Linked DNA regions of Homo sapiens: all the other regions are linked to region 6. Evidence: promoter capture Hi-C in human tissues and cell types (Jung and others, 2019). All regions are on one chromosome and are shown on one strand. Each heading gives the region's core, a stretch centred on a gene start or on the middle of the fragment in contact. The rest is flanking DNA. Distances are from core to core; before and after follow the strand shown.

Evidence for each region. The method cuts DNA at HindIII sites, captures the fragments that hold promoters and counts their contacts. A contact is called where the count stands out against the background at its distance.
Region 1: a fragment that was not itself captured here is called in contact with the fragment with the promoter of LRTM2 in region 6 in 4 of the 25 tissues and cell types used here (IMR-90 fibroblasts, dorsolateral prefrontal cortex, mesenchymal stem cells and 1 more).
Region 2: a contact is called between a fragment that was not itself captured here and the fragment with the promoter of LRTM2 in region 6, in 1 of the 25 tissues and cell types used here (lymphoblastoid cells).
Region 3: a fragment that was not itself captured here is called in contact with the fragment with the promoter of LRTM2 in region 6 in 3 of the 25 tissues and cell types used here (lymphoblastoid cells, mesenchymal stem cells and spleen).
Region 4: a fragment that was not itself captured here is called in contact with the fragment with the promoter of LRTM2 in region 6 in 1 of the 25 tissues and cell types used here (spleen).
Region 5: a fragment that was not itself captured here is called in contact with the fragment with the promoter of LRTM2 in region 6 in 2 of the 25 tissues and cell types used here (dorsolateral prefrontal cortex and spleen).
Region 7: a contact is called between a fragment that was not itself captured here and the fragment with the promoter of LRTM2 in region 6, in 5 of the 25 tissues and cell types used here (adrenal gland, bladder, dorsolateral prefrontal cortex and 2 more).

What each region holds. Positions count from the first base shown.
Region 1 is chr12:1,647,358-1,651,311 of GRCh38, reverse strand. No RefSeq gene overlaps it. Among named protein-coding and RNA genes, the nearest start is that of MIR3649, 11 kb to the left of the region's middle. RefSeq lists an enhancer at 3,719-3,954. The HindIII fragment of the contact is 6,657 bases long and covers 1-3,954 here.
Region 2 is chr12:2,017,427-2,021,457 of GRCh38, reverse strand. It overlaps CACNA1C-IT1 (CACNA1C intronic transcript 1), which reads right to left. Exons shown (of 3, transcript XR_001749433.2): 1 at 3,166-4,031; 2 at 452-1,532. It also overlaps a transcript of CACNA1C not described here. Among named protein-coding and RNA genes, the nearest start is that of CACNA1C-IT1, 2.8 kb to the right of the region's middle. The HindIII fragment of the contact is 4,814 bases long and covers 1-4,031 here.
Region 3 is chr12:1,670,328-1,674,276 of GRCh38, reverse strand. No RefSeq gene overlaps it. Among named protein-coding and RNA genes, the nearest start is that of MIR3649, 12 kb to the right of the region's middle. The HindIII fragment of the contact is 4,477 bases long and covers 42-3,949 here.
Region 4 is chr12:1,622,593-1,626,193 of GRCh38, reverse strand. It overlaps a transcript of WNT5B not described here. Among named protein-coding and RNA genes, the nearest start is that of WNT5B, 4.8 kb to the left of the region's middle. The HindIII fragment of the contact is 5,142 bases long and covers 1-3,601 here.
Region 5 is chr12:1,989,196-1,993,021 of GRCh38, reverse strand. All of the region lies in intron 3 of DCP1B (decapping mRNA 1B), which reads left to right. It also overlaps a transcript of CACNA1C not described here. Among named protein-coding and RNA genes, the nearest start is that of DCP1B, 13 kb to the left of the region's middle. The HindIII fragment of the contact is 7,991 bases long and covers 1-3,826 here.
Region 6 is chr12:1,818,996-1,822,485 of GRCh38, reverse strand. LRTM2 (leucine rich repeat transmembrane protein 2) reads right to left here and starts at 1,921. Exons shown (of 5, transcript NM_001039029.3): 1 at 1,672-1,921. All of the region lies in intron 26 of CACNA2D4 (calcium voltage-gated channel auxiliary subunit alpha2delta 4), which reads left to right. RefSeq lists an enhancer at 1,605-2,351. The HindIII fragment of the contact is 8,239 bases long and covers 1-3,490 here.
Region 7 is chr12:2,039,376-2,042,996 of GRCh38, reverse strand. It overlaps a transcript of CACNA1C not described here. Among named protein-coding and RNA genes, the nearest start is that of CACNA1C-IT2, 7.2 kb to the left of the region's middle. The HindIII fragment of the contact is 5,912 bases long and covers 1-3,621 here.

The DNA.
Region 1 (3,954 bases), core at 1,358-3,857, 170 kb after region 6:
GATGGCAGACATAGCAGGGAACAAAAGAGGTATCAAAACTTCCCTTATGAAACGTAACTGCTGCTAAGAAGTCTCTGGAAATAAATATACGAAAGACGTAACTTCCAAATCAGGGACCAGCCGAAGAGCTGGCTGACCCAACAGGCAGAGCACCAATATGGAATGAGGCCAGGGTCACTTCAAACAGTACTCACTCCTTTTGGCTTTACAGTGAGATTGGATCAAAAGGGTTCACCTTTTCTATAGTGTCTGTTCTTTCACGTCTTTCCTTGGGTCCCTGCTGAAGTCCCCTCCTGATATTCTGCTGAAAGCCTCCCCACCACCCGGTTTCCACACCAGCAAACCCTCTCTTGCCCCGAGTGATTTGAGTCTGTTTCTTTCTCTCTCTTTCTCTCTCTCTGTCAATACTGCAGTTTCCTTCTGGCTTTGGCTGTGAGCAGCTTTCAGTCTATTTTCAGTTCTCCTGTGGAGCAGCAGATAATACACATACATCTGTAATTCTTAAAATCTCATTGGAACCATCCCTCCTCCCACCCAGTTGTTTATCACAACGACTTAGAAGGCCTAAATTAACTGATTCAGCTCTGTCTTCTACTGCTGCTTCTGGTAGGGCTGCAAATGAGCAGCATGAAGACCAAAAGGCCTGCAGCAAGAGGGAGGAAGCAAGGACTGGAGAATCTACGTGAGGAATGCCCAAACTCTGCAACAAGCTAGAAAATTAACTGTGGATGGCTTCAGTCTTCCACACTGCCTGACGTCTGATCCTCACTGCTGGGCCCAAATCTTCTTACTTCAGAGAAAAATGGGCAAGCTCCCATACTTCTTATGTAAAACCAGAATTAAAGCACCCACCCTTTACTTACTGTTTTAGTATAAACACAATGCAGAGATTCTTACATAATAAAGAACTAACAGTAACACTTAGCAACCATGGCTCACAGCCCTTCTCAGCTCCCCAACATTCCTTCTAGAGATATGAAGCCTGTCATCACCAGCCAGGCAGAGGACAAACATTTCCAATAAAGATAGACAACCCAGGCTCTGCAACGTCTCAGCCAGAAGTGTTGAGTTGTTTTTAATTTTTTACATACTCCATGCCTCTGGTGCCTCTCCACCTCCACCCCCAAATTAATGAAAAATACTCATTTCCAGACACACACATAGAGAGACACACACACACACACACACACACACACACACACACACACAGAGGTTCTCCCAAAATCCACCTGCCCAGTGTCAGTGGTGTCTGGCAATGGAGCAGAGTGTTTCAGATGGAAACACTATTTTCCACACTCTCGGGGTGGTGTGGCTCTCTGCCAAGGAATAGGCTTGTCTGATAAGCTACTGCATCTGTAAGATCTCTATCTCATGGAGGACATCTTGCTAGTTCCTAAAACTGCAGGGGATGACGGAGCTTAAATACGATACTAATGATTAAAGAGAGGAAGCAGGGCAGAATTTCCAAGGCAATAGCCAATTTGAGGTTTCAATACAAAGAGCAAGTTTTGTTTCTCACCTCAAAGGATGGAGAGTGGAAGAGAACAAAATGGGCTCTCCAAGTAAGGACTTTGAATCCAAGTTCTGGAGAATTTGTCCATGATGCTTGGATGAATGGAAGCCTGCCCTAACCTCAACCATACCTGTGACTGCCTTCCTATCCTCCCATCCTCTAGCTGTCCATCTGTCTTCTTATTAAATGGAGGCAGTCAGGCATACCTTTCTCTTAATTTTTGAAGATAAGGCAAAGACAAATAGCTAAGAACATATCGCCTTATGATAGACATTCAGGAAATAGATCAGTAGGTCTCTACCCATCGTAGGCAGAGGAGGGAGGGAACATCCCAGGGCAAATCAGTTCTGCCCTGTACCAGAAAGCTCTTTCCAACGCATCAGCAAGGTTCCCTGGGATGGCTGGGACTGCTTGGTCGAGGCATTACACCAATGTAATGATCTGGTGAGACTACATGTTGATTATAACACATTTCAGGTACTAGGGAACCCTGCCAGGGGCTGCAGAGAGCACTGGGCTGGGAATCAGGACCAGGCTTCCTGCCTCCCGGCAGGTCTTAGCTCTCCGTAACCGCAAGTCCAGTGTGGTCTTTGAGCTAACAGCATCGGATCCCTTCAGGTCCCAGGCTCTGCCCCAGACCAGCTGAATATGAATTCCTGGTGCTGGGGACCCAGCACTCTGCATTTTTACAAGCACACTAAGGTGTGGGACCTGCTCAGGATCTGGAGGTTCTTATCTGGAGCCCCAGAAGCTTAAGCTGTGATTGCCATGTTCCCTTCCTGCTCCAACATTCTGTGATTCTGAGCAGAAGCTCACTTGCTTTTCTCAGGTTGGTTTCCACATTCTCCAGCCACATTCCTACAGCGTTACTGGTCACTTCACAGACAGGATTCCAATCCACCAGGATTCAACAAGCAAGTAACAAGTAACTATACCCGTATGCCAACCTACTTAGAAAAATAGGTCAGTGGATGCAACAACCACGCTGGTGTTTGAACACAACTTGCTCCCACATCAGAAAGAAAACTGATTCACTCTACCACTTGCCATGACTCTGCAGGAAAACCTTACTCTGATAAGGATTATCCATCTCCCTCCATGAACACGGAAGTGACTTCTGGGGATTGTGGACAATCATTCTCAGCTCATTTCTGGGGGCTTCTAAGAACAGGTTAGATTTCAGCTCTTAAACAGTTTGAGCACCTGATACAAAGTAATTCCCCAAACCTCTAGAACTGATGTGGGGAAGAACAGTGATGTTAGCCAGTGTTTCAAAACCCTATTATCATGGTTGATCTGTGCATCTGGATAGTTATGGTTAAAGGTGGTTAAGATGGTTAAATGTCAATGAATGAAGACGAGGACATGGTTTTCATCTTTTGTAGACCAATTCACTTCAATCATTTTTTTTTCTTTCGAGACAGGGTCTCACTATGTTGCCCAGGCTGGAGTGCAGTGGCATGATCTTGGCTCACTGCAACTTCTGTCTCTCAGGTTCAAACAATTCTCCTGCCTCAGCCCCCAAGTAGCTGGGATTACAAGTATGCACCACCATGCCTAGCTAATTTTTGTATTTTTAGTAGAGATGGGGTTTCGCCATGTAGGCAAGGCTGGTCTTGAACTCCTGACCTCCAGCGATCCACCCACCTCAGCCTCCCAAAGTGCTGGGATTACAGGCATGAGCCACCCTGCCCGGCCATAACTTCAATCATTTTCTTTCATGAAAATGAAATGTCACCTTGAAAGTATCAACCAAAGGAATCTGGGTAACAGTGTGAGTTAGCTACAGGTGAAATAACTCTAGGTCTGAGGTTCTTGGTTGGGTCAGAACATTCTCCCTCAGGTACTAAAGAGACAGGTAGTATGCATGGCATAAATGCCCTCAGGCAGAATCTCTTTTAAGCAGTTTTGCAATATCATTTGCTCATTATAACCCAAATTAACACATTAATTATTTCTCCAGAAATAAAGTTTTCTAGAATAAAACTGATGTCTTTCTGTAGTTACCGGCTCACCTGCAGGCTGGTCACTCTACAGCAGCCTGGCTCCATGTCTCCCTCAATCACTCCTTCCTCCCTTTTTAGGATAATAACATCTCCCTTCCTGGATCCTCAAGCTCAGCCTTACCCTCCTGGCCCCAGATACTGGAGTCCAAAATTGCAGACAGCAACACAGAGGAGACGGCAAAGGGCATCCCCATTACCCGTGCTTTAACAGGGACCCAGGGAACAAGCCAGGGTTCGCTTGGTAGGCTATCAAATAGGGGAAGGGAAAGAGGCAGGTAAATGTGAGGTTTCAATTTAAATTTCTGAACTCCCTTGTGTATAGCAGTAATATTAATGGCTACCACTTCCTGAGTGTTTAACTGTGCTAGCTCTTGGGGTGAATGCCTAAATGCATCACCTTATTTAATTCTCAAAACATTCATCTGTTCCTCTCCC
Region 2 (4,031 bases), core at 568-3,067, 200 kb before region 6:
ATCCACCCACCTCAGCCCCCCAAAGTGCTGGGATTACAGGTGTGAGCCATAGTGCCCGGCAAAAATGAGTGTCTTTATAAATTACCCAGTCTCGGGTTTCTGGTATAGCAGCACCAAATTGACTATAGTGCTCTATCTCTGTGTTTAAATTACCTGTAGCAAATTCTGACTGCTCTGCCTATAGTGTAGGTGACCCTGAGCAAGTTATTTAAGCTCTCTGAGCCTCAGCTTCCTCAACTGTAAGATAAAAATGACAACATAAAAAATGATCTATGCAAAGCTATTTGCAGTTGGTTATTATCAACTATTATTATTACCTAGCAAAAAGGCAGTTGATTAAGAAATGTACTGAGTGATAATTAGTGATTAGGAAGCATTTGTGAACGCAGTATCCAGAAATAATTTTACCATTAGGGAAAAATAGTTGACGTGTAGATATTTTCCTACTTACCCTGGAAACTATTCTATGAAAGACTTTTCATGTATGGCCCCAAGAAGTCAGTTCCTGGCCACTGAGCAGAAGTTACTGGTAGGCAAATATGGGTTCCATACAGGGAAGAACTTTCTAATTCACCATCTGTTGAGAGGAGCTAATGAGTTCTTCATGGCCAAGGGCATTCAAGGAGGCTGAACCACCACCTTGTCAAGATGCAGAGCAAATTTATGTATTAGGCAGATGGCGTTCAAATCTCCTCCACTCCTGAGAGTCTATGGATTTGGTGCAATTTCAGTGCTTCTATTCTGTAGCTATGATGTCTAATTTTATTCCTCCCATGGCCCTCCACCAAATCAGCCCTTCTGTCTTCCCTTCTTTCCTGCTCAACCATTTTGTTGTAGCCAAGTGTACTTATAGTCCCAGGAAGCTTTACAGCATCTAGAGTTCTCCTTTCCTACTGTCTCCTCTGCTGCCGTAAGTAGTCCACTTTCTCCCATTCCACGGCATCCTCTATTTTTATTCCTTTATTCTTGTTATATGCATGCAGCCTTACTTCAGGAAATTTGTGCTGATTACATGACATGAGAGGGGAGGAACCAGAGCTAAGGGTGCAAGGCACAGGTTTGGAGACAAACAGCCCTAGGCATCCAAACCAGCTCTCTCAGCTACCAGGGGTGACACTGGACAACTTATTCAATCTCCCTGATCCTCAGTATTGTATCTGAAAAATCTAGAAAATATTAGCACCCACTTTATAGAGTTTTTCTGAGGTTTCGATGATCTAATACAAGCAAAGCGCTTCACATGGTATCTGGCACATAAGTAGTCCTCAGTGAAAGTTAGCAGTTGTTATTATTGCTGTCCACCAAAGAGCATTTGTTAATGGCATCATATTCTTGCCTCCTTCAGTTTCCAAGAGAAGTGTGTGTGTGCACTTATGTGTGCATGTGAGAGAGGGAAAGAGAGACACAGGAGATACACACACACTGTCAGAGAGAGAAAGAGAGAGAAAAAGTTCTCTGAAAGAAATGTATACCTTTAAACATTTGTCTTTCATACTATTTTAAAGCTCACTCTCCATATTCATGGTGCAATGCTGCATAGTAAGAAACATAAAAAGAAATTTAACAAATGGTTCCTCCCTGCAGAAAGTTTAAAAACATGAGAAATAAACAGAAACATAAACCATCTACCACTGATATCTTCAGGATTCAATTAAGTGGTAAATATTAAATACATGTAGGTACATATTTCATATTTAAAAATACTTAACATATTATGGACACTAAAAACTAAATCAATCTGTGAGCAAATCAAATGATTGCTATAGTTAACAGTATCCTCTCACAAAAATACCATGTTACATTAGAAGCCATCTAGATTTTCTTTTTCTTTCTTTCTTTTTCTTTCTTCTTTCTTTCCTTCTCTTTCTTTCTCTCTCTCTTTCTTTTCTTTCCTTCCTTCCTTCCTTCTTTCCTTCCTTCCTTTCTTTTCCTTCCTTCCTTCCTTCCTCCCTCCCTCCCTCCCTCCCTTTCTTTTCTTTCTTTGTTATGTTTATTTTAGATACAGGGTCTTGCTTTGTGGCCTAGGCTAGAGTGCAGTGGCGTAATCATTGCTCACTGCAGCCTTGCACTCCTGGGCTCAAGTGATCTGCCTCAGCCTCCTGAGTGGCTGGGACTACAGGCACGTGCCACAACACCCAGCTACTTTTTAAAAATTTTTTGTAGTGATGGGATCTCACTATGTTGCCCAGGCTGGTCTTGAACTTCTGGGCTCAAATGATCCTCCCACCTCAACCTCCCAAAGGGTCAGGATTACAGGTGTGAGCCACTGTACCCAGCCCCAGATTCCATTTCTAATCCTCAGTCAGCTCCAACTCTGTTTTTCCCTTTGCCCTGCCAACCTATCAAACCATAGACTCACCGAGTTCAGAGCCAAAGATGTAACTCAGAGAGTCACCCAGTTTGGTTTCTCCTTTTTCCCCTTTAACAGCAGCCATGAGAATCCCATCTGTTAAGGGAGAGTGACACATTTTGCTCCCTCATTAGATAATATTTAGGGAAGGGTTAAATGTTTTTTTTATTAAAACCTTGGGACCACTTCTTTAGCTGGTTCAGTTTATTTGCATGTTTGTAGGAGAGCTAGGTTAGGAAAGAAAATCCAATGTTATCGTAAGGGAAAAGTTCTGTCTTCTGTTTCATCACGATCATTCTACTCACATGTAAATTTTGAGCACAGTACTATATTTTTATAATTAGATTTACTATATATTAAGTCAAGCTACCTGTCCCTGCCAGGTACTGGCCAACTGAACTGAGTTTTCTTCCCAAATTAGTTGAGTTGTGCTTATTAAGACAGAGGGCCTGAATGAGCTCCGTCCCATCATTGGCTGCTGCCCTGTGCAACGCCCACGCATGGCTCCATCTCAGCTGATGGAGGAAGCGCTCGTCCACAGCCATAAACTTCAGCTTTCCTTGCTCTGTTGCTTTCATCCTGACTGCCTCTCAACATTCTAGCTTCCCCTCTCCAGCCGTGGTGTACTGGAGCCAGCTTGTACTAGTTTGTGAGAGAATATTGTTAAATTTTCAGAAATTTTGCCAGCCGATTGTTCAACATGGCCAGTATAAAAACCGAATTATGTGAACTTACAACTAAATAAATTATATTAGAAACAAAGAGAATAAATACTCAAAAACTCCTTCCTTCCTAATTATTTTACCACATTTTACCATTCCCTTTGCTCTCAAGGTTGCTTATCATACATGTCAGCCTATGCTATCCGCGTGGTGGAAAGAGCACACCACGGTAAACCACTGCTCAACTCTCCCTAGCTCCCCTCGCAGCAGTGTTTACGTGGACATTCTCGAATCAAGTCATTGTGAGAGTATTTACAACAGGGAGGTCAGCAAATGTGACATATCCGGGCTTGATTTATTGTTCTGTTAATTGTTTAGACCACGCGTCTGCAACCTCTGGCCTGTGGCCTGTTTTCCTGTGTCCCTTGAGCTAAGAATGGTTTTTATGTTTTCAAAGGTTTTAAAAAAATATTCAGAACCTCCCATTGGTAGACACAATAGTATTGTGTTGAGTCCGTGTAGAAGGCAAGCAATGGTTTTTCTAATTTGTGGTGCTACTGCCTTCAAGCCAAAATGGGAGCCTCCCGCTGGGCTCTTCTTGCCTCTTCTGTCTCCTTCCTAATTACAATGAGTCTGGCATGAGGACACACCGACAGCTGACTCTGATGGAGCACAAGGCAAATGGAATGCAGTCCTCTCACTATCACAGTCATACTAGTTCCACAGAACCAATAATAGTAAAAATATTTTTATCAGTAGAGGCATTAGGTCAGAAAAAAAAAAAACAGAAAAAAGATACATTGACTGAAACCATGCTTACATCACCATGTTTAGTGGGTATCTGGCAATTATCCAGGTAATTGGATCCTAAGTAGCCAGACCATCTCTTCTCCCCTCACTCCCTGTGAAAAACTCTATCTGGAAGCTTAATGATCTACATTACCAAAATTAACTGGGTAGCTGTAAAAGCTAACTGAGTTCTTTTATTTTTTAAGGGTGATCAGTTATCTTGTATCATT
Region 3 (3,949 bases), core at 1,031-3,530, 150 kb after region 6:
AATGAAGACAGTGTGGTAGTGACATAAAAATAAACATGTATATTTCAATGCAACAGAATGGAGAGTCCAGATGTAAGCTGATACATCCATGGTCAATCTCTGACAAGAGTGGCAAGACCGTTCAGTGGGGAAAGGTCAGTCTTTTCAACAAATGGTGCTTGGACAACAGATATACATATGCAAAATAGTGAATTTAGACCCCCTAAATTCACACCTTCACACTATATACAAAAATAAACTCAAATGATCAAAGACCTAAATGTAAGAGCAAAAACTATAAAAATTCTTAGAAGAAAATATAGGGGTAAATATTTGTGATATTGGAATAGGCAATCATTTCTTAGGTATAATATCTAAAATGCAAGCAACCAAGGATAATTAGATAAATTAGGTTTCACCAAAAGTAAAGGCTGTTATGTATCAAGAAAGCGAAAAAACAACCCAAAATGGGAGAAAATATTTACAAATCATGTATTTAATAAGGGTTTTATATCTAGAATATATAAAGAGCTCCTATACCTCAACAATAAAAAGATAAATAACTCGGCTGGGTGTGGTGGCTCACACCTGTAATCCCATTACTTTGGGAGGCTGAGGAGGGCGGGTCACAGGTCAGGAGTTCAAGACCAGCCTGGCCAACATGGTGAAACCCCATCTCTACAAAAATATAAAAATTAGCCAGGCATACTGGCAGGCACCTGCAGTCTCAGCTACTTGGGAGGCTGAGGCAGGAGAATCACTTGAACCTGGGAGGCAGAGGTTGCAGTGAGCTGAGATTGTACCACTGCACTCCAGCCTGGAAGACAGACTGAGACTCTGTCTCAAAATAAATAAATAAATAAATAAATAACTCAATCTAAAAATGGGCAAAAGATTTGAATAGACTTTTCTTCAAAGAAGATCTATAAGAGGGCATGAAAAATGTCCAATATCATTAGTCATTAGGGAAATGAAAGTCAAAATCACAACAAGATACCACTTCACAGCTGGGCACAGTGGCTCACGCCTGTAATCCTAGCACTTTGGGAGGCCGAGGCAGGCAAATCACTTGAGGTCAGGAGTTCAAGACCAGCTTGGCCAACATGGTGAAACCCCGTCTCTACTAAAAATACAAAAATTAGCCAGGCGTTGGGGCAGGCGCCTGTAATCCCAGCTACTCAGGAGGCTGAGGCAGGAGAATCGCTTGAACCTGGGAGGTAGAGGTTGCTGTGAGCTGAGACTGTGCCACTGCACTCCAGCCTGGGCGACAGAGTGAGACCCCATCTCAAAAAAAAAAAGAAAAAAAAAAGGCAAATTATATGGGATGTAAATTTTATCTTAGTAAAAAACAAAATAACAGAAACAACACAAAAGATTAATGATATCTCACCCTGTCAAAGCAGGAAGGGATCTTAAATGATTGTCTAGTCAAACTGCATTATTTTAGAGAGAAAGAAACCAAGGTGCAGAGGAAGGAAGTGACTTATAAAAAGTGACACAGCTCGGGCCTGGCGCGGTGGCTCACACCTGTAATCCCAGCACTTTGGGAGGCCAAGGCGGGCAGATCAGTTGAGGTCAAGAGATGGAGACTATCCTGGACAACATGGTGAAACCCTTTCTCTACTAAAAATACAAAAATCAGCTGGGCGTGGTGGTGCACACCTGTAATCCCAGCTACTCCGGAGGCTGAGGCAGGAGAATCACTTGAACCCGGGAGGCGGAGGTTGCAGTGAGCTGAGATCACGCCATTACACTCCAGCCTGGGTGACAGAGCAAGACTCCATCTCAAAAAAAAAAAAAAAAGTGACACAACTCGTCAGCTGCAGGGTGAACATTGAGCCCCAGGACCTTTTACTTTTTTCTATATCCTTTAACATGTAAAATTTCAAACACATACAAAATTTCAAACACAAACACATACAAAAATGTCAAACACATACAAAAATAGAGCTAGCTCCCTGTATCTATACTCCAGCTTTAATAGTTATTAGTACACAGCTTTTTTTTGTTTTTTTTTTTTGAGACGGAGTCTCGCTGTGTCCCCCAGGTTGGAGTGCAGTGGCGCGATCTCAGCTCACTGCAAGCTCCACCTTCCAGGTTCACGCCATTCTCCTGCCTCAGCCTCCCGAGTAGCTGGGACTACAGGCGCCCGCCAACACGCCCGGCTAATTTTTTGTATTTTTAGTAGAAACGGCGTTTCACCGTGTTAGCCAAGATGGTCTCGATCTCCTGACCTCGTGATACGTCCGTCTCGGCCTCCCAAAGTGCTAGGATTACAGGCGTGAACCACCGCACCCGGCCCACAGCTTTAATAATTATTAAATAAGTATCAGTACACAAATTCAATTTTTCTTTTTTTTTCTTTTTAGACTGGGTCTTGCTCTGTCGCCCAGGCTGGAGTGCAGTGCACAGACTTGGCCCACTGCAACCTCCGCCCCCAGGGCTGAAGCAATCCTCCCACCTCAGCCTCCCAAGTAGCTGGGATTACAGGCCCACACCACCACGTTCAGCTAATTTTTGTAGTTTTAGTAGAGACAGGGTTTTGCCATGTTGCCCAGGCTGGTCTCCAGCTCCTGGGCTCAAACAGTCCACCTGCCTCAGCCTCCCAGAGTACTGGGATTACAGGTGTGAACCACTGCACCCAGCCACAACTTTAATAATTATTAAATAATTATTAGTACACAACCAATTTTATTTTATCTCCACCGTCACTCACTTTCTCCCCTCCCAGATTATTCTGAGATGTATCTCAGACATCATAGTATTCATCCACCAATACTGCGATATGTGCATAGTTTTTCATTTATTTTTCATGTATGATCTGTTTCTCATACACATACACATGCACACAAAAGAAAAAAAAAAGAGTGATCCCTCCAAAAAATGGAAAGCAATGGTGAGCAAAGAAACTAATAAAGCTTTAAATAAATCTAAACATGCATTCGCTGTATAACTGTATGTTACATTGATGATGGATATGTAAAGATATGAAGTATCACTGCAAAATAGCATGTTAGATAGGGTGGTGGTGTATGAAGTACTAAGTTCCTTGAGCAAGACTCCATCTCAAAAAAAAAAAAAAGTCAGGGTGTGGCAACAGTGTAATTGCTGGTGGCCTGACCATTTATGGCAGGATCTCAGCAGGTATGCAGAGCTACTATTCCGTGGGGAGGGAGTTGATGACAGCTAGTCAAGGTATGACAACTACATTCTAGAAGCTTAGAAAAGTTCCTGCTTTGGTAAGACTTGTTGATGGCACCTGAGCCACAGCAGTGGGGCTTAGGCTGAAGTTTCTGATCCCTGTTGTGGACCTGGGCAAGGGCCTGGTGGTGATGGGGAGCTTGCTTGGTATATGTCCAGCCTTAAAAGCTAGAAAAAGCAACGGCGGGAGCAGTGATGTCTGTGAAGCTGTATTGATAAAGTTGTTTTTTTTTAAAGGTGTAAAAGTAAACACATCTGAATCTCAGGGAAAAGCTACGCTACTTCAACTTCAGGATTCAGTCATTCCTGCTTGTTCAGAACCACAGGGTAAAATGAGCACTGCACTTACAAAGGGCTAATCACAAGCGAGGGCACTGTGGCGACCTTTCACCAGGTGTCAAGGTGTGGCGGCCTCTGTAGACCCATGACTCAGAACACCAGGCCAGGCACCATCTGGGAACACATCTGCGACTTCATATGAAAAAAAGGTGTAATTTAGTTGAAGCAATTAACTTAAAGTTGGTGAGTAAAGCCTTTTCGAATGAGCTGTGAGTGAGTGAGGGGGAGAGGATGCCCGAGGGGCAGTGTGGGGTTGCCTGCAGTGGAAGCGAGGCTGGCACTCTGCTACTGAGTGCCCAGGGAGAAGGAGGGGAGGACGCAGGCCAAGAACCTTTGGCCCCCAAGCAAGGCCTCCAAGGAAAACCAAAGGGCCGAGCTCGAGCTCCCCTTTCCTCCTGGTTTATTCTCTTTCCCTCAGGAGCCTGCCGGA
Region 4 (3,601 bases), core at 919-3,418, 200 kb after region 6:
TGAGCCCAGGAGTTCAAGACCAGCCTAGGCAACACAGTGAGACCCTGTCTCTACAAAAAAATCTAAAGTTAGCCGAGCATGGTGGTGCCTGGGAGGCTGAGGCCAGAGGATCGCTTGAGCCCAGGAGTTCAAGGCTGTAGTGAGTCGTGATTGTGCTATTGCACTTCAGCGTGGGTGACAGATTGAGACCCTGCCTCAAAAAAAAAAAAAAAAAGAGAGAGAAAAAAAACAGGCAGGGTGCGGTGGCTCATGCCTGTAATCCTAGCGCTTCGGGAGGCTGAGGCAGGTGGATCACTTGAGGTCAGGAGTTTGAGACCAGCCTGGCCAACATGGCAACACCTATCTCTACTAAAAATACAAAAATTAGCTGGGCGTGGTGATGGGTGCCTGTAATTCCAGATACTTGGGAGGCTGAGGCAGGAGAATCGCTTGAACCTGGGAAGTGGAGCTTGCAGTGAGCCGAGATTGCACCACTGCACTCCAGCCTGTGTGACAAAGTGAGACTCCGTCTCAAAAAAAAGAGAAAAAACAAAAGAATAAAAGTACATTTGCAATTTTGTTAACATTCCTGGCATAACAGGGTAAACCATCTTAGCAGTCTTTGGAAAGGAAATGCTTCCCTTTGTGAACTCCTGGCTGCATTGCTGTTGAAGGAGGGGCCTCAGACTGGATGATTTCCATGGGACAGGGGAGGGGCAGGTGGAGGAGGAGCAGGCCTTGCTAGCTGGAGTCCTGTGGCTTCTCTCCCTTTGGCCACTCATTTCTCGTACTGTAGAGAAAGACTGTTTATGGACCTCAGCACAATAGACAAATACCTCCTAAAATGTACATCAGGTTCACTCATTTCCTTCCCAATTTCCAGGTGAGTACTCACCCTTCTGGCATCTGAACACCAGAGTAGTTCTTCGTGGTCTCACTCACAAGTGCACATAGACACAATACCAGTTTTCCCTAAAATACTAATTTTACATCATAATATTCCCCTATTTGAAAACGTATAGTGGTTCCCAGTTCTTTATTTCCAATGTGGCCTCATCTTACCTCTCATTGTTTTCCTGAATTTCCCAACATGAAGTCTCCTTTTCCAATGTCCTTCTACTCCTAGAACAAACCCCACTTTTCCCCCAAGACCTCATTCTGATCCTCTTCCCAAGGAAGCATTCTCCTCTGCTCTGCAGCAATCCAGATATTAAACTACTTTCACATCCAGGCTCAAGATTCACTCCCTCCATAAAACTGTGCTTGATTAACCCCACCCCATGAGAATCTCATTCTCATGGGTTGAGACCGAAGAGGTCTCAACCTCTTCGGCCCTTATGAATCCATGTATCTGGTCTGCACCTCCCTACCCCACTTATGCTGCCTTGGGCTGTTTCTCAGGTGAAGTATATACTTCTTACTTCTCTAGTAGATCAAATGCTTCCTAAAGGTTCAAACTTACCTTTTCTACTTTCTCTGCGAGCCCCTTTGCGCCCAGTATGGTTTTACTCAGCAGTAACAAATGTCTTTTGATTGATAACCAGTGACAATAGCTAGTATTAATCAACATTTATTGAGCACCTCTTAGTGCACTGCACTAAATGTTTCACATCTATTTTTCTCATTTAATCTCTGCCAACATTTGTGGCATATGCCATTATTATTCTCACTTTGAAAACAGGGAAACTAAAATTAAGTACTTGTTCATACAGCAATTGAATGGTTGACCCTGGCTTGGAATCCAGATCTTTCTACTCTTCCCCAAATACAGGTCCTCCCTGTCACTAGAGCATAACACCTTCTCTGCTTTCTCTTTTTTTTTTTTTTTTTTTTTTTTGAGACAGAGTCTCACTTTGTTGCCTAGGCAAGTGGCATGATCTCAGCTCACTGCAACCTCCGCCTCCCGATTCAAGTGATGCTTGTGCCTCAGCCTCCCGAGTAGCTGGGATTACAGGTGCCTGCCACCACGACCGGCTAATTTTTGCATTTTTAGTAGAGATGGGTTTCATCATGTTGGCCAGGCTGGTCTTGAACTCCTGACCTCAGGTGATCCACCTGCCTCGGCCTCCCAAAGTGCTGGGATTACAGGCGTGAGCCGCGGTACCCAGCCTCTTTCTTTTCTTCGTTGCACCATTGCCCTGTTACTACGGCTGCGAATAGTGTGAAAGTCAGAAAACAACATTCTGATATGCAGGAGATATCACAAAAAGCAAGGTTTACAAAACATGCAAAGTTACTAGTATTAATACACACACTTAGATACACACACAGCCTTGTGGGCGGAAAGAACTAGACTTCTCCCCTAGCCAAAATGATATGTGGGTTGAGAACAGGCCAGGCTGCTTAAAGCTGGAGGAATTAAAACATAATAGTTTTAAAGAGTTGGTACTTAGTTTTACTTTGGGATGGAAAAGACAAACCAGGTCAAGAGCTATGGGTCTGGAAGGGTGGATCCTGGTTTGGTGTGAGGGGCTCATGGAAGATGCAGAGGTGAGGTACAGAGTGCACGTGAAGAAACATAAGGTTTGGAGAGAACGTGGAGGGACATTTTAGATTGGCCTTAACAGTGAAACTCACCAAGAAACTATGTCCTCAGCAAGAAAGGCTCTTACTTCGATAGCACAAAACTGTCTTGCCTTTCAGTAGATATAGCGATCGAGGAGCTCTGTTCAAAGCTTAGATTTGACCATGTGACTTCTTTGCTTAAAACCCTTCAAAGAGGCCGGGCGCGGTGGCTCAAGCCTGTAATCCCAGCACTTTGGGAGGCCGAGGCGGGCGGATCACGAGGTCAGGAGATGGAGACCATCCTGGCTAACACGGTGAAACCTCATCTCTACTAAAAATACAAAAAATTAGCTGGGTGTGGTGGTGGGCGCCTGTAGTCCCAGCTACTCGGGAGGCTGAGGCAGGAGAATGGTGTGAACCTGGGAGACGGAGCTTGTAGTGAGCCGAGACTGTGCCACTGCAGTCCGGCCTGGGCTAAAGAGCGAGACTCCGTCTCAAAAAAAAAAAAAAAAAAAAAAAAAACAACAAAAAACCCTTCAAAGGTTTCCTATCTCCTAAAGGATGAGTCATAACTCCTCACCCCATTACATGACGCCTTCCAGAATCTGGCCCCGCCAACCTTTCCATCCTCTTTAGGATTTCATGCTGTGCTTTAGAACCCCAAACTCCTGATACCTCCTTACCCAAACCCATCCTGTTTCTCCCCGCTGTGCCTTGCCGACTTCTGGGAATGGTTTCTCCTCTCTCTGTGCAGAGCAAGCTCCTTTGTCATTGAGGCCACACCTTCCAAGAGGCCTTCTCTAACCATCTCTGCCAAAGAAGGCCCCCAGCAGCATCATTCTATTTCTAGCTTCTCACATGTTTTAGCCACAGCATTTAATGTGACATGGAATAGTGTGGCATGCTCATCTGTTGTGCTTTTGTTTCTGTCCCTCATATGCTCTGGAAACGGTCTTATTTACCATTTTCTCCCCAGTGGATAGGATAGTACACAGGGGTATGTGGGAGTTGCTAGAAAAATATTTGTTGACTGAAAGAAAAGAAAAGCCCTCCTCTGGCTCTCAGGGAAAGAGGAAGCAGGCCACGAAGGCCAGCCTCTCATGAAGACAAGGAGAGT
Region 5 (3,826 bases), core at 877-3,376, 170 kb before region 6:
ATGGATTTGTAGTGTGAACCCATTGCTGATCTTAAGCCTGAGCAGGGCTGGGTGAGGCAAGTTCTTAGTGAGGAGACTGCAGAGACACACACATAGGTGGCTCCCTGAACGAAGAATTAACGAGTCTGCTATGGCACTTTTTCTTTATGTATCACTTTTGGCCGAGTGAGCTGACAAAGTGTTTGAGGGCCTGTATTGTAGGAGTGCCATCTTCTGAATACAAGTAAATAAAAAATCAAAGTCCAAAAAGTTTCTTTCAGTCATTAAGAATTTAATAACCCTTTGTAATGTGGAAGTCGTAGTAGGTAACTAAATAGTCCTTGTCAGATTTGAAATGAAGTAGCCATCGCCTTTCTCATACTACATTTTACTCTCGTATCGTTTCTGACCACTTGTGTTGCACTGCTGGTCAGCCCAGAGGAAGATTGCTGAAAATATGCCAGTTGCAGGGACATCTCTACACACAGAAAACAAGAACATAATACTCAATATATAAATACATATGTGTGCACACACATGCACCTTATGCTTTGTGGACAGCTTTCATAAAGACCTTGCAGTGAAGAAATGTTTTCTGTATATTTTTCATCCTACTCTTTGAACTCAAGATACATGAATTTGCCTACCATATACTATTCAGTGTAATTTTAATGAGTATAATGTAAATAATATTTGACATTTTAACCCCAATGCATCATTAAGATGCATTAAAATGATGCTGTATATAATTGTCATAATAGGTGGTTATCCTATTATTTAGAGAATAAATTTTTATGAGAGAAAAAAATAAAGCTATTGAAACTATAATATGACTTACTAATGGCAGGTCCTGTGAAATGAAAAGTTTTGCAATATAGAAAAATATTGTGTTTTCTCCTCATGTTTCTTTGCCGAAAGGTACACTTTATCAATTGTAGTTTATTACTAAAGACTTGGAATTCCAACTCCAGGACCCTTTCCTTCTCTACAGAAATGCCAGTTTGAATTGTTTATAGTTTGAATTGTTTTGTGTGCTTATAGTTATGTCAGGGTTTTTTTTGAGATTATTAGATTTTATGTCAAATTAATATATAATTTAAGTCCTAATAAAATAACTACAAAGTTACCTGTAATCATCACTTTTGGTTGCTTTTATTTTGGATAAATACATGGTCTGATCAGTTATAGGTAATATTTTATTTTAAATTCTTATTATAGATCACATATTAACTACTATACCAAAAATATAAAAACACAAACTCTCTTTAATGCATCAATTTAAAAAATAACCTTCTTAAGTCCCACAGGGTTTATCTGATAGAAAATACTATTTAGATCTAATAAACATACACCTTGGTTCTAAGCGTGTGCTGTCCACTATGATAGTCACTAACTACTGTGGCCGTTTAGTACCTGAAGTGTGGCTAGTCTAAACGGAGCTGCACTGTGAGTGTCCAACAGGCACCAACTGTCAGACAGTGCAAAAAAAAAAGGAAAAAACCTCAATTATTAATTATTTTATATTAACATGTTGAAATGACAATATTTTGGATAAATTGGGCAAAATAAAATATATTATTAATTTCACTTGCTTCTTTGTATTTTTTAATTTAAAATAACAGATGTGGCTCACGTTCGTGGTTCCCCTCATATTTCTATTGAATGGCACTGTTCTATTTTAATTTGTTTTTCATATTTTATTTTATGTTTCCGTATTTTATAATGATTTTCATTTATTTTACCATGTTTAATAATCACAATTTTGTGGAGTAGACATTTTCATTGCCATTTTGCAGATGAGGAAACTGAGACTCCAGTGAGGAGGCAGACTGTGTAAAAACCCACAGATTCTGATTTCACTTCCGTTGCTTTTTCCACACCACCTGTACTGCTCTACTATTAAACATGGATGCAAATTAAAGGTAGCCTTTGGGATGCATATTAAAATGTTTCTAATGAATTTCCATACAAAAGAAATAGAATCAGTTGAACAACAAAGAGTGAAAGGGAATGGATCTATTTACTTTTCTGGATTCATTTTGCCTTTTTTTTTTTTTTGTCCTTTCTATCTGATACTGATTGCCTTTGCACCCAGAGTCATTTGGTTTTATGTTGTTTGCAAAAGCCTTTTCAATCCCGGGCATCAAAGGTACACAGAAGGGTTTACCACAGGTGCTGTCAGAGTGTCAGATACCTCTTAAACGTTTTAATAGAATTCAAATATGTTATATAATAATTATGTATGGTTTACATGTTCTTTGGTGGCATATAGATTGGTTGGCCTTTCTTTGGGCAAGGAACTCAGCTTTACTCAGGATTGTTTTTGTAAGACTATTTCCTCAAGATATTCTGTATAGTCAAGAATCTCTCTGTCTGGTCTTTGCATTTCACATTGGCTTATGTATGTCATAGGCCATATTTGGGCATTTCAAATAGACAAAGGTAGAATTGATAGAGGTTTGTGGTGAGGTTTTTTAGATTCATTAGGAGAGAAAAAAAAAATCCCTTTCTTGAATTGGATGAATGTAGAAGAGCAAAATAAAGAAATGAAAATCCCAAACTCTCTTCATTTAATCAGCCAAAAAAAGATGCTTGATAAATAGAGTAACTTCATTCAAACACAAAATAGATTACTTTATTACAGAAAAGGGTTTATACATTGTTTAAAGGGTTTAAACATTGTTAAAATGGGGTTTGACCTGTATGAACTTTAAAAGTAAGTAAGATAGCTGTTAAAGTTAGGGCAAACATTTCATTCATTCATTTATTCAACAAACATTTACTGTCTGCCAAACACTATGTTCAGGTTTTATATGGGTTATCCCATAACTTTTTCTTGAAAATACTGTTATTCCTGTTTTATAAATGAGAATACTAAGGTTAAAGGGATTAAGTGATACGCTGTGGTCCATGACTATTTTGAGATGGAAACACCACTTGAACCAAGAAACCTTAACTTCGAGACCCAAGGCCCAAGCAGTGAAGTACTAGCAGTAAATAATGCATTTGAGCCAAGTTTATCATTTACAAACACTTAGTTATTTTAGAGTACGCTCCAAGGTTTAAAAAGCAAGTTTTTTTAGCCTTGAGATTCAAGCATATATCAGTTATTAGAGAGATTAGTTTTTACCAGATTAAAAACTAATTTAACAAAAAGCTGAATTAGACCACTTCTTTTGTAATATTCCCATATAGTAATCACTTACTGTGTTTTTCATTTCGCAACTAAATAAGATATTAGCATATGGAAATATATTTTCCCAAATATAATACTTAAGTTATAGACAGCAATGACATGGGGATTCCTTTCTTTTCTTGCTTTTTCAATTGAGACGGAGTCTTGCTCTATTTGTCCAGGCTGGAGTGCAGTGGCACAATCTCGGCTTATTGCAGCCTCCACCTCCCAAGTTCAAGCAATTCTCCTGCCTCAGCCTCTGAGTAGCTGGGATTATAGGTGTATGGCACCATGCCTGGCTGATTTTTGTGTTTTTAGTAGAGACAGGGTTTCACCGTGTTGGCCAGGATGGTCTCAAACTCCTGACTTCAAGTGATCACCCACCTTGGCCTCCCAAAGGGCTGGGATTATAGGCGTGAGCCACCACGCCCAGCCCCTTTCCTTTCCCTTTCCCTTTCCCTTTTCTTTCCTCTTTCCTTTTTCTCTTTGCTCTGCTCCTGCTCCTGCTCCTGCTCCTGCTCTGCTCTTTAGAGACAAGTTCTTGCTCTGTCACCCAGGCTGGAGTGCCATGGCATTGGTCATAGCCTCATTGCAACCTTGAACTCCTGGGCTAAACCGCCATATCCAGATAATTTAAAACAACCTTTTTAGAGACAGGATCTTGCTGTGTTT
Region 6 (3,490 bases), core at 672-3,171:
TCAGGGTGGTGTCCCTGGGGCTGGGCTCAGGGTGGTATTCCCAGGCAGGGCACAGGAGGCTTGGCTGGGGGAAAAAGGAGGAAGACCAGAGGGGCAGACAGCCTCTATGCTGGCTCCTTTCTCCTCTGCCCACCCCCAGAACTCCCAGACACCCCCAACCATCACATACATGCCATCCCCTCCTCCTTCCTACACTGCCCACTGAGGCCATAGCAGCCCAGAGGCGGCCCCTGGGCTCTGGTGCCTGGGAAACGGGAGCAGAGTTTGCTCCTCGTGGGCCCAGACAAGCTTCTGTCAAACCCCAAAGACACCAGATCGGCTGCTTAAGCAGCCTCTCTCCTTACCCCTCCCCGCGGGCCTGGCTTTCCTGGTCTCCCTCTTTTGGCAGTGCTGAGACTTTCTTTCTGCCGGTGGGGAGGTGGGGGTGGGAAAAGCTGGGCTCTTCTTGGCAGCTCGGAAGCTGCTGTCGGGTTTCCCTACCAGCTGGACTTCCCCCGCCTCAGCTCCACGTGCTCGGCTCCCTCCCCGCCCCCACCTGAGGCAGTTATCTAAGCTGCAGGGGTGTCATCTGAGTCACAAAGAGACACTGCCCAAGTAGCCCTGACAGCCGGGTGCCAACACCCCCCAGAAATGTGGACAGCTTGGGGGTGGGGGAGAGACAGGGCCGCCAACTGGAACCCAGCCCCAGACCTGCAGGGAGGTGCAGGAATGTGAACTTCCGACTCCTGGTCAGGCTGCTCCTCTCTCCAGCACTGTCCAAATGGGTCTGGGGGATTGAGAGCAACTGTCCCGCTCTACTCAGGGTGTCCATGCCCCCTGTGTGGGTCAAGAAGCCAGGCAGGCCTGGCCCCGCTGTGTACCCCCCACCCAAGCTCAGTGTCCAGCCCCCACTAAGGCTCCCTGACCCATTTGCAGATGGACGGCTGGGTGCACAGCTGCGGGACACCCCAGCAGGTTCTCGCGGGCCTGGTTCTCCTGTCTTGCCCTTGGGCTAGCAGGGAAGGGCTGCGATACTTCTCTCTCCTGCCCACTCCCAGCCTCACCCTCACCAGGGAGGCTTCATGCACAGCTGAGTGGGCCCATGCTCATCTGGGGGAGGGTTCCTCCACACCCTTGTCCAAGGACAGCCACCTGCAGGCAAGCTATAGGGAGGCCCAGGACCTGGGTCTGTGCCCATGCCTCTGACATCCAGGACCTCCTCCCTGCCACCCTCCACCCCAAGCCTTCCTCTGACCTGGCCCTGTCCCCAGCACCTGACTGCCATCCCAACCGCTTCCCATGACCCCCGAGTTTCTTGGGGCTGTCTGTGCAGAGCCGGGCACAACGACAGCACAAGGCTCTTGGCTGCTTCTCCCATGCTGCAGGGACCGGTTTCTATGCCACCCGGGACTGTCATCTGGCGCCAGCGCTGCCCTCCTCCCCACTTCCCAGCAGAATCCACAGCTCTTGTCCCCAGCACTGTGGGCTCAGAGTTCCCAGTGTCGTGCACCTTTGGGATGCTCAGGTGCCTGAGCCCGAGCAGCTTCTTCGGCCCCAGCAATTGCCTGCAGGTAGGAAGCAACTGCAGCTATTCCTGCAGGGCAGAGATGGCCGGTGCCCACTTCCCATGCCCCGACCACCCCCTGTCCCCACCAACCCTCCATTCCTTCCTACCAGCCACTCGGTACTCACCCGTCTTTACTCTGACTGCAAACGCCTTCAATCAGGTGGCTCTCAACCCTCCAGTAAGACCCTCCTGGGATTCCTATAGAAATCCAGACACCACCGGCAGGCAGAGCGCAGTGGGCACTGGTGCCAGAGTCTCCACTCAGCGGGAGCAGCGGCTGGCACGCAGCACACAGCACCAGGAGGTGGACTGCTTGTGGCAGACGGGGGACGGGGCTGCTGGGTCAGTCACAAACTGAGAAGGAAAGAGAGGGATGGAGGGAGAGAGAGAGAGGAGAGAGGGAAGAAAGGGGCGAGGGAGGAGAGCGCACGCGTGTGCGCGAGCAGCGAGCCAGAGTGGAGCGGGGAGTGACAGCTGGGGTGCATCTGTGATGACAGCGGCAGCAGCACACACAGGCGCACACCAGAGGCACCACGGCCGGCCGCGAGGGCAGCGCTCACCCTGGCCACGCTCACATTTCAGTGGAAAAAGGCGCCTGTGGATGAATCGCTGCCGACCACAGGGAGGAGGAAAGCGGTTTCACCACCACCTCCATCTTCCATCCTGCGCCTCCAGGCTCTCCCTCACCCCCCCGGCTGCACCTGTCTTCTGTGCCTCTCTCCTCTCTTCCCCTCCATCTGGGGAAAGAGGGACAGGCGCAGACACAGAGCAAGCGGCTGACTTCTGTTCCGATGGAGGCCCCCCTGGGAAGCTGGTCTTTCTCCTGTTTTAGAGACATGCGAGGCAGAGTCTCCCATCCTGCCTGAGAGAAGGAAAAACCGAACCCTTCTCTCGGTCATACGAAAGAAGGGTACACAGGCATGTCCATGTGCCAGATGACCCTACAGGAAAGGGCCCTGAGCCCCCACAAAGCCAGGGATCACATGGTCATGCAGAGGTCACTGAGCCTCAGGGTCTGACCACCCGACGCCAGGACTACTTAGGGAAGCAGAATGCCAGAGTTGGCAGGCTGGGAGTTTGGGCACAGGGCAGCCTGCAGCAGCAGCCTGCAGACCGTTCTCAGTGCCAGGGACGAGCTTGGCTTCTCAGGGCTCCTTGCTCTTATCTGTGATGGGTCAGGCATGCGAAGGGAAGAGACTGTCATTCAAGAACTTGGAGGCCTCTTTCTTAACCAATCAGGACAAAGCAAGTCAGAAAAATTGATATCCTAAGAGATGGGAAGTGGCTGATCTGAAGGCCAAGTGAGTCAGGGACCAAGCTAGAGGGGAGCCAGGGCCCCACCAGCCTGGAGCACGAACCCTAAATCCCCCTTCCTTTGCGTCCACTGCCTGTAGACAGATGAAGCACCGTGCTAGCGATATATCACCGTGTCCTATGTCCCTCTTCCATTTTGCCTGCTTTGCTGGAGGGGTTCACAGCCAGGACTGGGGTGGGTGTAGAAGAACCCCCTGGACTCAGGATGCCCCTAGAAGGATGCTCCTGCTCACTCCCTTCTGTCCGTTCTGCCGGGTCCCCGGGCAGCACAAGGCTTGAGCTGCAGTGTCTTTTACCTCTGGGGAGTCCCGCCTCTGACCTCTCATGCTGGTGCCTCCCACACATCCCACTGTCAAGCAAAAGAGGCTCCCACCTCCCCATAAACATACTTCCTGCTTCTCCATCTCCATGAAAGCGTGTTCTTCCCTGGGCCTGAAATGCTCTCCTGCCCATGGGTGGCTTCCCCCTTCCTTAAACGCCCCCTGCAAGGTGACGTTTCCCCGGAACACCACAGGACTGGCCCTGCTCCTCCTCCGATCTCTGGCATTCTCTTTGGGCCACCCTCATGTTGTGCAGGAGCTTTCTGTGGTCTGCTTCATCTCCTTTCCTTTTTTTTTTTTTTTTAATTTT
Region 7 (3,621 bases), core at 878-3,377, 220 kb before region 6:
ACACGTCTTCCTCTTAAAGTACAGGCATATTTCTCAAAGTACAGGCATATTTATGCTTGTATTTATATTGAATAGCTTATGCAAACTATTCTTATGTGGATGAATCAAGAACATGCTAACAATTTCCCAAGTGGCCTTCGAAAGTGATTGGAGTAGTGTAGGACATCTTGAAACTTGTGTACAAGTCATGATTTAATAGAATTCATTTCCAGACCCTCAACTTTCATATGTGCTCAGTCTTCACGTTCACCGGAGGACAACCCGGGGCAGAGCCTGGAGCCCACCTGCCGCTTCTCCTGTCTCTCAAAGGGGCATCCTTATCCTACACTTCAGCAGAGAAGCACACCTGTCATTCACCCTGCATCCTTCCAGGTCCATATCCCTGTGGTGTGAATGCCCCCAGGACACCAAACAAGGAAATCTAGGAAATACTGGTGCCCAGACAAGGAGACATTTGAAATACAGGTGTCTAGAAAGCCTCTTGAATCGGACAACATATCCCTTCGATCATGTAAAATATATTATTTCTGGTACATTTTATATTAAGAATTACCTCGAAAAGCTCATAATGTAAATATGTTGTTTTGCTCAGTTGTACATTAATAGTATCTGTGATGAAAATTCAATCCAAAAGAAGCGTATAACACAAAGCCTTATGTTTATAAAATTTTTAAATTTTAAATTTTAATTTATAAGCCTCTTTTTGTTGCAGAGTAATATGGTAGCGTGATCAGTAAAAGACTTTCCAGCATAAAAATATATCGTATTAGGGTAAAATTTTAAGAAGGAAATGGAATGTAAATATGTATCCAAGGAGAAAAAGAAATGATGAAAAATCTTTGACTGTTAAAAACAGGGCTTTTATATATCTTTGAATACATAATAGAAGGTATCAAATAGCTGCAGTGTTTATATTTTATTGGAAACTTTAAAAGAGTAATGCAACAATTTTATGTTAAACTGTCAAGATTTATAAAGCACCAGAAATTGCATCATTTACAACCATTTAAAATTATCATGAAACTTTTGGGATGTCAACTTGAAAACGCATGATGAGGCACAGACTTTTTCACAACTCTTTTGGGGGGATCTGCAAGCAAAGCACTGTGGAGGCCCTGGGTCAGCACAGGCTGCAGCCCCGTAAGGTCCTGGCTCGGCAGCCCCGGCCACTGAACGTTGGTTCAGGCTGCTGCTCTTCACAGGGAAGGCCAGGGCTACAGACCTTGGCAGATAAGTAAATGTTCATAAAACAAATGAACATCTCTGCTTTCTCATTCTCACTCTGTCTTCTATCCCCAACATGATCTTGAACAAGATGCCTCCCTTCTTGGGGTTTGTAGTCTTCTTGAGATTCTTGGAGAAAGCAAGCAAGGTGTCCTGTGGTCACATTATCCCAGCGGATATCAAGAATACCCTTAGCGGGCCGGGCGCAGTGGCTCATGCCTGTAATCCCAGCACTTTGGGAGGCCGAGGCGGGCAGATCACGAGGTCAGGAGATCGAGACCATCCTGGCGAACATGGTGAAACCCCGTCTCTACTAAAAATACAAAAAATTAGCCGGACGCGGTGGCAAGCGCCTGTAGTCCCAGCTACTCGGGAGGCTGAGGCGGGAGAATGGCATGAACCTGGGAGGCAGAGCTTGCAGTGAGCCAAGACAGCGCCACTGCACTCTGGCCTGGGCGAAACAGCAAGACTCCGTCTCAAAAAAAAAAAAAAAAAAAAAAAAGAATACCCTTAGCATCACTGTGACCCACACACCCCTAAGCAGTCTTTTTCAACCCAGATTGTTTGGATTTTATTCCACAACAGAGTCACTCAATTTTAAGTATGTTTTTAACCCAGAAAGGCCAAACAGAGCAGGCACTAGGACTTCACTGCCTATTTCTACCCTTTCAATGTTTGAGATGGAATTTTTCTCAGCCTCAGAAGAAATACTTTCAGTTCTGGCCTTCAATCAGGATTTATTGGACAGATCTGATTCTGCTGTATTTTCATTTACAGCCTAGAAGACAAAAGTGTCAGGTATTAGAAAGAACTCTGAGTTTAAAGCTTGTATCTATTACCACTTGGCTGTGTAACTTTAGCCAGGTCTCTTAATGTTCTTTGAGTATCAGTTCCCTCAACCATAAACCAAGGAACTTTCAAGGAATGGATTCTGAGTACAAAGTGAAATGTTAGTATGAAAAAGCTTGTCAAGGAAAAGTATAGACATAGCAGGGTACTTATTACCACAAAGATGGAATTTTCTGTCATCTTTGACAATCCATTGAAGCACCCAATAATCTTTCTTGGTCCAACCTGAATATCATTAACCACAATTCCAACCATTTTCTTTTTGTCTTTTATTCCTCTTTGGAAAAAGAGACTAGTTGGTCACCATCTCTTATGTAAGAATTAATTGTCTATTTGAAAAGAGGATGCTTAAAACCAGTTCTTCAGAAGTGAAAGTCAAGGTATTCGACATCTCCACATCACCCAGCCTACCGCTTAGACTTTGATAACAAAATTCTCTCACATTTCTTATAAAAGTCTAATTAAATCTCAACAATTTTATCCATGTAACCATTTTCTGCTTGAAAATTTCCCTTAAAACTCTGAAAGTAAATCCTATAGGGGAGGTAGTTAGATCAGCTACATTATTTGCTGTCACTTCTATGCATTTAGTGAAGGCTCACCAAGATGGATGTTCTGCAGAGAGCAGTTCAATGTTAAAAGAGTTTGGGAAGCACAGAGCTAAGAACATTTCCTATCACACAAAGACCTCATTTAAGCCATCTTTGATAGTTTCTACAATACCCAAATCATGAATGTTAAAAACAGAAACAAACGAACAAAAAAAAAATAGATGGAGTTTTGCTGTCCATCCTCAAAGTCTTAACTCTCTCCCTGCTGAAGTCATGGGTGTGCCACAGCTGGGTAGAAAAGTACCTGGATGGGAAAGCAAGTTGAATGAAGAGGTGATGACTTGAAAGAAAAATCTAGTGCCGTCAGGCTTTCCATGGCATCCAAGTAGATGCATTGGTCTCTGCCATCCTCCATCTCCTCTTTGCATAAATCCTACCCCCATCCCCATCTCCAGAAGCACTCTCTCTACATATATAGGCAGCCAACACTGACATGATGCCCCACAGGAACCCAAGAACTGTAATCCCAGCTCAGGCACAGGGATGCTCACCCCTATGGCCCAATGGTCCAAAATCATCCCTTATTCCTTCTCCCCTCCCACACCCAAACTGCAGACCTCCATCCTTTGCATCTGTGTGCAAACTCCTACTCATCCTTTAAGACTCAGCTCAAGAGTCCCGGGTCAAGTTCTTCTTCCTCTGTGTTCCCATAGAGCCTACCGCTATCTCTATCAAAGCACTAGTTATATTGCTGTAGTTATTTGTTTACCTCCTGTATTCCCAACTAGACTCTCAACATCTCAAGGGCAAGAACGATGTTGTACTTACCTTTGAATTTCCTTTACCAAGAATAGTACTTGGCTCACAGTAAGTGCTTAATAAACATCTGATGAATAAATGAATGATTGCTCTATCTATCCTGTTGGTGGTAGAGAATTAATCCAAAAAATATATTGCTAATGGTGCAATTTCAGGCATATTACAGGCTGGTAAAAGA